2 separate regions of the Homo sapiens genome follow, and region 1 is linked to region 2. The links are contacts of gene promoters, found by promoter capture Hi-C in human tissues and cell types (Jung and others, 2019). All regions are on one chromosome and are shown on one strand. The core of a region is centred on a gene start or on the middle of the fragment in contact, and the rest is flanking DNA. Distances in the headings are between cores, read along the strand shown.

What was found. Contacts are between HindIII fragments. The study calls those that stand out against the background at their distance.
Region 1: a contact is called between a fragment that was not itself captured here and the fragment with the promoter of KLHDC7A in region 2, in 1 of the 25 tissues and cell types used here (dorsolateral prefrontal cortex).

Annotation. Positions count from the first base shown.
Region 1 is chr1:17,957,697-17,962,694 of GRCh38, forward strand. No RefSeq gene overlaps it. Among named protein-coding and RNA genes, the nearest start is that of LINC01654, 110 kb to the right of the region's middle. The HindIII fragment of the contact is 3,977 bases long and covers 968-4,944 here.
Region 2 is chr1:18,478,920-18,483,837 of GRCh38, forward strand. It overlaps KLHDC7A (kelch domain containing 7A), which reads left to right and starts at 2,011. Exons shown (of 1, transcript NM_152375.3): 1 at 2,011-4,918. The coding sequence starts at 2,063. The coding sequence ends at 4,396. RefSeq lists enhancers at 1,089-1,961, 1,962-2,833. The HindIII fragment of the contact is 16,937 bases long and covers 1-4,918 here.

The DNA of each region.
Region 1 (4,998 bases), core at 1,706-4,205, 520 kb before region 2:
AAGGGGGGGTGTTGATCTAAGAGATTTTCTGTTTCAAGGCCCTTCCAGCTCTGAAGTTGGAGGGTGGGGTGAGCTCCTTTGGACAGTTCCTCTATTGCACAATGGGTTTGCATGAGAAAGGCCCATTGAGAATTCCCTGCCCTTTTCACAGGAATCTGCTCTCAAGTGAGGTTTTCCCACCTATCGTGGGGCTGGACAATTCCTTTTGTAGGGAAGATCCCCTTAGGTCTAACGTAAGAGCCCCCACTCCCATTCTATCTTTCTTCTTCAAGGATGCTTTCTGTCATTTTCTTCATGTCAGACAAAACTCAGAACAGGCCTGAATTTGCCATCGTGTGCTGGGGCGTGTCCAGGCCTGTCAGAGATGCCACTGATTGCTTCATTATGCTGTTGCTGAGCAAATTGAGCCAGAAGGGGAGAGAGTGTGCTCTTTCCTTCATCCCAGTTCGAGGCGCTCCATTCCCTCCAGTCATGCAAGATGGGAGGAGCACCTAAGCCCACCTGCTGCAACGCGAACCCCTCAGCCAACTCACCCCATGACCCTGGTGAGGTGGTCAGCTCCCTTGGGGGAGAGAGGAGTTGGGATGACCTGATCTTCCTCTGCAGTTCAGCATCTGAATATAACTCAAGATGCATCGCCTCCCAGTTGCTTAAGCACTGACCTAGTTCACTCGCCATTCTTCTATTCTTTCCTTCAATAATTTGGGAAATATTTACTGAGACCCTGCTGTGCGTCCTACTCTGAGATGGCATCTGGACTCTCTGGAGTTTGTGGAATGGTCAGAAGAAGGCTATAGCCTGTATTCAGCTGGACCTGGATTCAAGTCCTGACTCTTGCACTTAACAAGGTATAAGATTTAGGGGAGCTGCCTCCCTCCTCCAATCTTCCATGCCCTTACTTACAAAACAGGCATATGAGGATCGACCTCCTACAGTGGCTGGGAGGGGCCTGTCTGTTATCTATTCGGCACCTGGCATGGGGTTACATAAGTAACTGTTAAGTTTCTTTTTTCTATACTCTCCAATCCTGCCTTCACCCTCAACTCTGCATATGTTGTGACTTTTGCAAGTATGTTTTCTACTCACTGGATCAGACAGACTCTTAGGGTGCTCTCTTCTCTTCTAACAATCCCCTGATGTGGTTTGGCTCTGTGTCCCCACCCAAACCTCATATTCAATTGTAATCCTCCCTAATGTTGGGGGAGGGGCATGGTGGGAGGTGATTGAGTCATGAGGGCTGACTTCCCCCTTGTTGTTCTTGTGATAGAGTTCTCTTGAGACCTGGTTGTTTGAAAGCATGGAGCACTTCCTCCTTCGCTCTCTCTCTCTCCTGCTTTGCCATCTGAAGAGGGTGCTGGCTTCCCCTTCACCCTTCTGCCATGATTGTAAGTTTCCTGAGGCTTCCCCACCCATGCTTCCTGTACAATCTGAGGAATTGTGAGTCAATTAAACCTCTTTTCTTTGTAAATTACCCAGTCTCAGGTAGTTCTTTGTGGCTGTGTAAGAATGGACTAATACACCCCTCAAAGCAGGATCTGAGTTTTCCTTTGAGACTGGGAGCTCCCTGAGAAAGAGCGCTCCTTCTCCCATCACTCAGCTGATGATCCCAGGAGTACTAAACTGGCTAAGCCCATAGTAAGGAATGGAACAGGAACTGACCAGGATGCTGACTTGTTCTAGCCGCTCTCACTCAAGAGGAAGGAAATTGTACTTCACAAATGTCTTCATATTCCTGTGTAGATCCTCTGGCTTCTCTCATCACCAATATTTTCCCAAGTGTGAAAAGCTCTTTCAGACTCAGCTTGTAGAAACAGGCCTAGGGAGGTGAATGAATTGAGGTGAATGCGTTAAGGTGACCGATCAAAACCAAAGGCATCGACTCCTCGGGCCCCCATTTCTCAGGTGATGGAGGATGGGGGATGATGTGAGTGGAAAACTGCAAAATGCACAAAAAGACAACCATGAGATGATCTTCTGCCTAGTCTCCTTGTCTGTTACATGTCATTCTTTCAACTTAGGCTGGATAATGCAGCCAGATTCATTTTCTATTAGGTTAGTGCACAGAAATAATCACACCATTTATTTTTGTGCAAAGAAATAATAATATGTGCAAAGAAATAATTGCACAATTATTTTTAATGGCAAAAAATGCAATTACTTTTGCACCAACACAATAGAAGTCTTCCTATTATCTGAGGAAGACTCACAGAACATAAAGAGCTAGAAGAAGCCTTTGAGAACACAGAGTTTCCCTCTCTCATGTGATAGATTAAAGAATTGAGGCTCAGGGTAGCTGAGACATTTGGCCATGGCCCAAGATCCAGTGAGGGTCAGAGATGAGACCAAGACCAAAGAATCCTAAACACATCTCTTTCTTTTGTACAGGGCACGGCAGTTTTCAAATTGCTCTGTAGTGCCTTATTAACCTTTATTTCCCTAGTGCCTGGAGCAGAGTCTGGCACAGATATTTACGAATGAAGGCTCTTGATGTTACCAACTTCTCACAATTATGTTAAATAGGCAGAGGTTATGTTCCTGTGAGGCTTTGGGGCTGCTGCTGGTGGTTCGTCTAACATTACCTGTAGAATAAGTGACATTATCGGCAACACTTTTTCCAGATGCCACGCCTTCCTCAGTGTTCTACCATGGCTTCCATTGACTGTTGAACAAGAATGAGACTCCTTGGTGTGGCAATTCAAGGGCTTGGGAATGTGGTCCTCAGGTTTCATCACTTCACACTGGATCAGAAATCTCTGATTTAGCCAGACCTCTTTCCTCATCACCCTACGCCCACGCCTTAAACATTCTCGAGCCTGTGTGACCCACATTCCTTCTGCACACACAGGTCAGCGCAGTGCTGCTAATATGTGAGCCCACAATAAGCATTTGGGGAATGAATGCTCACTCCATGCTCCCCATTTGTGCCCTCTCCTCTTTCCTTTTCTGTTCAGATACTACCCATCCTTCTAGGCCTCAGTCAAATCTCACCTCTTCCTGGAAGCTCTCCATGACCACCCTCATCCCCAGGAGTCTCTCCTTCTGAATTCCTATATCTTGTCCATGGTCATTTGACAATTAATCACCTACTCTGGGGCATTCTTTTGCTGTTTTCCCCTGTCTCCCCAATGTGTCCATAAGCTCCCAGCCAAGAAGACCCTTGTGTGCCTTGACTTCAACCCCCAGCTTGGAATTGAGAAACATCCCAGGCTTGATCAGTATCTGTGGAACAATAACAGTAAGGACTCTGGTACCCAGAAAAAGTGAATCCCTTACAGATGTCCCTCAGCCAGCCAGTAGCAGTGCTTAACTCAAATACCTGTTTTCTGGACCCACAGTCTGCACCCTTTCTACCAGACTGAACCACGCCGGCACCAAGCTTGCATCCTCGCCTATTTACCATTGTTGCCTCCTCACAGTCTCACTCCAGGCTGGGTTTTATCATCTTACAGAGGACCTTCAAGGGGAAAGTCCCTTGCCCGGGAGTCAAAAGGGCAGAGTTCTGATGTTGGCCTTATAGAAAAGGATACCTATCATGAGGATCATAGATGCAGTTGCCTGTGTAAGGGAATATTTGGTGGCTGCTTCTGTAGAACCGGCTCATGGTGACACCAGGTGAATCTCCTTCCCTGTCCAGATCTCAGCCTCCTCATCTGTAAAATGTGAATGACTGATCTCTTCTGTCCTACGTATTCCCTCCTAAGAGAAGATAATGAGATAAGGAAGCAGCGGACACCCTGAAGGATGCAACTCCTGCAACTTCTCTAAAACTGTTCTTGCCTCCAGACTGGCTTCTCTCCAATCTGTTCCCTGCTCAGGAGCTAAAGGGACCTTCCTATGGTGCTGATGTGTCCAGATCACCTCCTGGCCTCAAACTCTTCCATTCTTCCCACTGCCCTCAGTTGAGATCCAGGCTCCTTGCTGTGGCTTGCAAACCCTCCATGGGTTCCCTGCCAGTCTCTCCAGTCTCAGTTCCCCCTCAGTGCCCTTTGCTCTCAGGCACCACCCACAATGGATTTCTCCATGCTTCTCTTTCCCATTGAGCTCACCCAAATCTTTGAGGAGCTTGACTATGATCTTCCCCACCTTACACAAGTGGGTTCATGCCACCCCCTCCAGGTAGACTTCCATGATCACCAAGATGAGGTTGGCCCTGTGCTCTCTGGCCCCCACAGAGAGCTGCTCTCACACTGCTTCTCCCATTTATAGGTGGAGCCGATTCCTCGCCCTTTGAATATGGGCTGGCCCTGGTCACTTGCTCAACCAGTGGAATGCTGTGGCAGTGATGCCCTGGGACCTCCGTGGCCAGGTCATAAGAAGCTTTACAACATCTGTCTGGGTTTCTGAGAATGCTTACACAGGGGAAGCCAGCTGCCATGTAACGAGTCTCACTGCCCCAAGTCCGCCATGCTAGGAAGAAGGTCATTTTGGCCAGGTTGGGAGAAAGAGAGAGAGACACCTGGCTAGCATCAGCTGATCTGGCCATCCCAGCGGCGGTGTTATACATGCGAGTAAAGAAACATATTGAACTCCCAGTTAACCTGTAGAACTGTGGGAGATCATCATAAATTTATATTTTAATCCACTGAGTTGTGAGGGTGGTTTCTTACATGAGAACACATCCTCAAAACAGGTCCCCTGCTGTGTGCACTCACAGGACCCTGAGCTTCTCCTCTTAAGCATCCATCATGCGTTGTTGTGATTACTCATATTGGCAGAGAGGTTGACTATTCAACCAAGACTCTGCTTCCCTTCCATAGGTAGTGTAGTTGTTGGAAAGCGGTCACCCAGCCAGAGGCTACCTTTTCAAGCCCCCTTTGCAGCTTGGCAGGTTCTGAGTTCACCTTTGCTGAGATTGTGAGCAAAGGTGATGTGCATCACTTCCAGTCCTGGCCTACAAGCATGTCCTATGCAGTTTCTGTACTTCCTGTTTTCCTCTGTCTATCAGTTGGATGTGACTTTGGGAACATACGTTGAAGATGAAGGTGCTTCCATCAGCCT
Region 2 (4,918 bases), core at 761-3,260:
CAAACAAGGTTTTGAGTCCCCATTTACAAGCCAGTTGACATAATCTTGGAGGTCCAGTTACCGCTGCTGTCAAATGGGGATAACAATCGTGTCTCTCCCCAAAGGGGCTGTGAGCATGAGACGAGATGAGATGAGCTTCATCCCGAGTGTTCACCCCAATCCACTCAGTGTAAAGACAATCCCTGCTGGCTATTGTCCCAAATGGTGCAGGGCCCCACATAGGCTTAGGGTCCACAGCTGAGCCAGCTACAGCCTCTGTCCTCAAGGACTTAGAATGCAGCAGACCAGATCTTGCACACAATGCACTTTACGATGCAGCAGCTGTGGCCAAGCCTAAAAGAGGAGCATCAGAGAACACGAGACCCAAAGGAAGAAAAGGTGATCTTGGACGGATGAAGGCACCAGGGAAGAAGGCCCAGACACAGCCTTTTACCCAACTCTGATGGGCCAGAGGGATGTCCACCAGCCTTCCCTGCCAAGAAGTCACCCTGAGCCCGGTTTGCTAGGCAGTGATCAGGAGATGCATCTGGAAGAGTAAACCGAAGCTGGTACACAGAGAGTTGTGAACGTCGGCATAGGGAGTCAGGATTGTCTCCTAGAGTCAAAGCCTTCAGAGCCAAATTCCTCCCATGCGTGTGCTTCCTGTGGCCCACAGTGTTTTTCAGTTTCATTTTTGAATCAGATGCCAACATTTTAAAATTGAGAGTGATTATGTCACTACTGGGATTCTAAGCTTTTTGCGACAGTGGGAGGATGAGGCAATGCTGGGCCTGATACCATCGGCTGGGGTGGGGCGGACAGACGTCCTTACTTGTTCACTTTACCTACCCAGCCTCCATATGCAGCAAGAGTTTGAGACCCCTGCACAGGACTTTGGGGACTCTTTGAGGACCTTGGTCAGGAGAAGGGTAGAATTAGTTCTGTGCTTTGGAAGGTCCTCTGATGACAATTGATACTAGCGATGATGGTGCCGATGATCAGAAAGAGGAAAAGGAGGAAGAAGCAGAGAATAGTTCATATTTACTAAGCTTTCATGATGGGGGCTCTGCCCCAGTGTTTATTCCTAGTAGCCCATTTAGTTCTCCCCACAAGCTGATGAGGTGCGTATGCTGTCATCCTCCTTTTTCAGACAAAGCACAGAGCGGTGAGGTCTCTTGCCTAAGGTCATATAGTTGGTAAGTAGCAGAGCCAGGTAGTCTGGGTCCAGGACCCACAGCACTGGTGATGGGGGAGGGGAAATGGTGAGGGGGGGTCTGGGAGACGTGAGTCTTCCCTCAATCTTTCACCGTAGGAGATTGTCTGGTTTTAAAAGAGAAGATGTGTCCACATCTAACCCCGATCTGAGCACTAATGCAATGTCTTTCTCCACTGTTCTCAGAAAGGCTGGTTTTTCTTAATAAACTTGTCAGGCAGGGAAGGAGGGCAGAGGCACTCAAGGGCCGGCTCAGGTGGCTTGGCTGCATGCCCTGGCTCCAGACTCCACTGCCATGTTCCCGTTCCCTGCTTGGCCAGCATAAAGTTGACCCCACTGTGAGGACCAGCAGACCTCACAAGAATGACCCCATCCACGCCTACTGGGGCTCCACCTGCCCATGACTCACCACACCCAAGCCTCTGAGCCCAGTGGACTTGCAAAAGAGAAAATAAAGCACACACATAAAGAATAACCAACCCCATGCATTTCCTGGCATCGGGTGACTGTTTGGTTAAGAGCTTCCTCCTCTTTTGTATGCCCACTGGATACTCCTAACATCCCCTAGCTGCTGACCACAGAGCTGGCTTAGGTGGCTGATCACAAGCTCAGCCCCTGGGCGGGCCCCCCACCCCAGCCACCAGGGAAGCATGGAAGGAGGCCAGCCGCTGGGATCTGCCAGCTCTGGGCCCCAGCGGCCACCCTCTGCAGCTCAAAGTCACCTTTGCTCCTCTCCTCTCCTCGGCTGGCCAGCCAGAACCAGCCCAGAACTCCCTCCCCTCCGCTCAGCAGGACCCAGGAACTGGTCCCTACTGGGCAATTATTAATCAGATTCTTGACATTCCTCAGCCCCAGGTTGGCTGGAGAAGCATGTTCCCCAGAGGAGCAGAGGCCCAGGACTGGCATTTGGATATGCAGCTGACCGGCAAGGTGGTGCTGTCAGCCGCTGCCCTGCTCCTGGTGACTGTGGCCTACAGGCTGTACAAGTCGAGGCCTGCCCCAGCCCAGCGGTGGGGTGGGAATGGCCAGGCAGAAGCCAAGGAGGAAGCAGAGGGCTCAGGGCAGCCTGCTGTACAGGAGGCTTCTCCTGGGGTGCTCCTGAGGGGGCCAAGACGTCGGAGGAGCAGCAAGCGGGCTGAAGCACCACAGGGCTGCAGCTGTGAGAATCCAAGAGGCCCCTATGTCCTGGTCACGGGGGCCACTTCCACAGACAGGAAGCCCCAGAGAAAAGGCTCAGGTGAGGAGCGGGGCGGGCAGGGCTCGGACTCTGAGCAGGTGCCTCCTTGCTGCCCCAGCCAGGAAACCAGAACAGCTGTTGGCAGTAACCCTGACCCTCCCCATTTCCCCCGCTTGGGCAGCGAACCGAAGAGCTCCCCAGCTGGACTCATTGCAGCAGCCGACGGCAGCTGTGCCGGTGGTGAGCCTTCTCCATGGCAGGACAGTAAACCCCGTGAGCATCCAGGACTGGGGCAACTAGAACCTCCCCACTGTCACTACGTGGCTCCCTTGCAAGGCAGCAGTGACATGAACCAGAGCTGGGTCTTCACCCGTGTGATAGGGGTCAGCAGAGAAGAGGCTGGGGCTCTCGAGGCTGCCTCCGATGTTGACCTGACCCTGCATCAGCAGGAGGGCGCCCCCAACTCCTCCTATACCTTCTCATCCATAGCCCGCGTCCGAATGGAGGAGCATTTCATACAGAAGGCGGAGGGGGTTGAGCCCCGGCTCAAGGGCAAGGTGTACGACTACTATGTGGAATCTACCTCTCAGGCCATCTTCCAGGGCAGGCTGGCTCCCAGGACAGCAGCCCTGACTGAGGTTCCATCCCCTAGGCCACCGCCAGGGTCCCTGGGAACAGGGGCTGCCTCGGGAGGCCAAGCCGGTGACACAAAGGGTGCAGCCGAAAGAGCCGCCTCCCCGCAGACAGGGCCGTGGCCCTCCACCCGAGGCTTCAGCCGGAAGGAGAGCCTTCTGCAGATAGCGGAGAACCCAGAGCTGCAGCTGCAGCCAGATGGCTTCCGGCTCCCCGCTCCACCCTGCCCAGACCCGGGCGCCCTGCCTGGCTTAGGCAGAAGCAGCCGGGAGCCCCATGTGCAGCCGGTGGCCGGGACCAATTTCTTCCATATCCCGCTCACCCCTGCTTCAGCCCCACAGGTCCGCCTGGATCTGGGCAATTGCTATGAGGTGCTGACCTTGGCCAAGAGGCAGAACCTGGAGGCCCTGAAAGAGGCGGCCTACAAGGTGATGAGCGAAAACTACCTGCAGGTGCTGCGCAGCCCGGACATCTACGGGTGCCTGAGCGGGGCAGAGCGCGAGCTGATCCTGCAGCGCCGGCTCCGGGGCCGCCAGTACCTGGTGGTGGCTGACGTGTGCCCCAAGGAAGACTCCGGCGGCCTCTGTTGCTATGACGATGAGCAGGATGTCTGGCGCCCGCTGGCTCGCATGCCCCCCGAGGCCGTGTCCCGGGGCTGTGCCATCTGCAGTCTCTTCAATTATCTCTTCGTGGTGTCCGGCTGCCAGGGGCCCGGGCACCAGCCCTCCAGCCGCGTCTTCTGCTACAACCCGCTCACGGGGATCTGGAGCGAGGTGTGCCCGCTGAACCAGGCCCGGCCGCACTGCCGGCTGGTGGCCCTGGACGGGCACCTGTATGCCATCGGCGGAGAGTGTCTGAACTCGGTGGAGCGTTACGACCCCCGCCTGGACCGCTGGGACTTTGCCCCGCCGCTCCCCAGTGACACGTTCGCCCTGGCGCACACGGCCACGGTGCGTGCCAAGGAAATCTTCGTCACCGGCGGCTCGCTGCGCTTCCTGCTGTTCCGCTTCTCTGCGCAGGAGCAGCGCTGGTGGGCCGGCCCCACCGGGGGCAGCAAGGACCGCACGGCCGAGATGGTGGCGGTCAACGGCTTTCTCTACCGCTTTGACCTCAACCGCAGCCTGGGCATCGCCGTGTACCGCTGCAGCGCCAGCACCCGGCTCTGGTACGAGTGCGCCACGTACCGGACGCCTTACCCGGATGCCTTCCAGTGCGCCGTGGTGGACAACCTCATCTACTGCGTGGGACGCCGGAGCACCCTCTGCTTCCTAGCAGACTCTGTCTCACCCAGGTTTGTGCCCAAGGAGCTGCGGAGTTTCCCGGCCCCGCAGGGCACCCTCCTGCCCACCGTCCTGACCTTGCCCACCCCCGATTTGCCTCAGACCAGGGTCTAGCAGTCCCTCAACTGAGCTCCTCATGCAAAGCTGGGGGCCACCGGGCTCCACTGCCAGCCGTCCCTCTGGGGGCCATTTCTAGGCAAACAGGCAACCCAGGAATGTGGCCATCAAGAGGTGAATTCCGGTCCTTTCTCCTCCCCTAGCTGGGGAGAGAGGGATCTTAGATGAGTCTTACCCTTCATGGGCTGCAGAGGCCCCACTGCAGAAAAGAGGACCAGGAGCTGGTGTTCCAAGGCAGAAGGCATTCATGTCTTCAGGGATGACCGCCCTTGCTTCAACTCTGAATTCTTGGGGGGATACACCGGGACCCCACCAAAGCTTAGGGGGCATAGTCTTTTTGCAATCACAATTCTAGGAGCCAGTTGACCCCAGCAGCCCCTCGCTAGTTGCTCTGGAGAGGGGTTGGCTCTCTGAGCCATCAGTGCCCCTTCCTAAACATCAGCCACTGGGCCCCACCTCCACAGTTCCCAGAAGCACCGGGACACACAGGTGGGAAAGATGGAGGCAGGTGACTTGGGC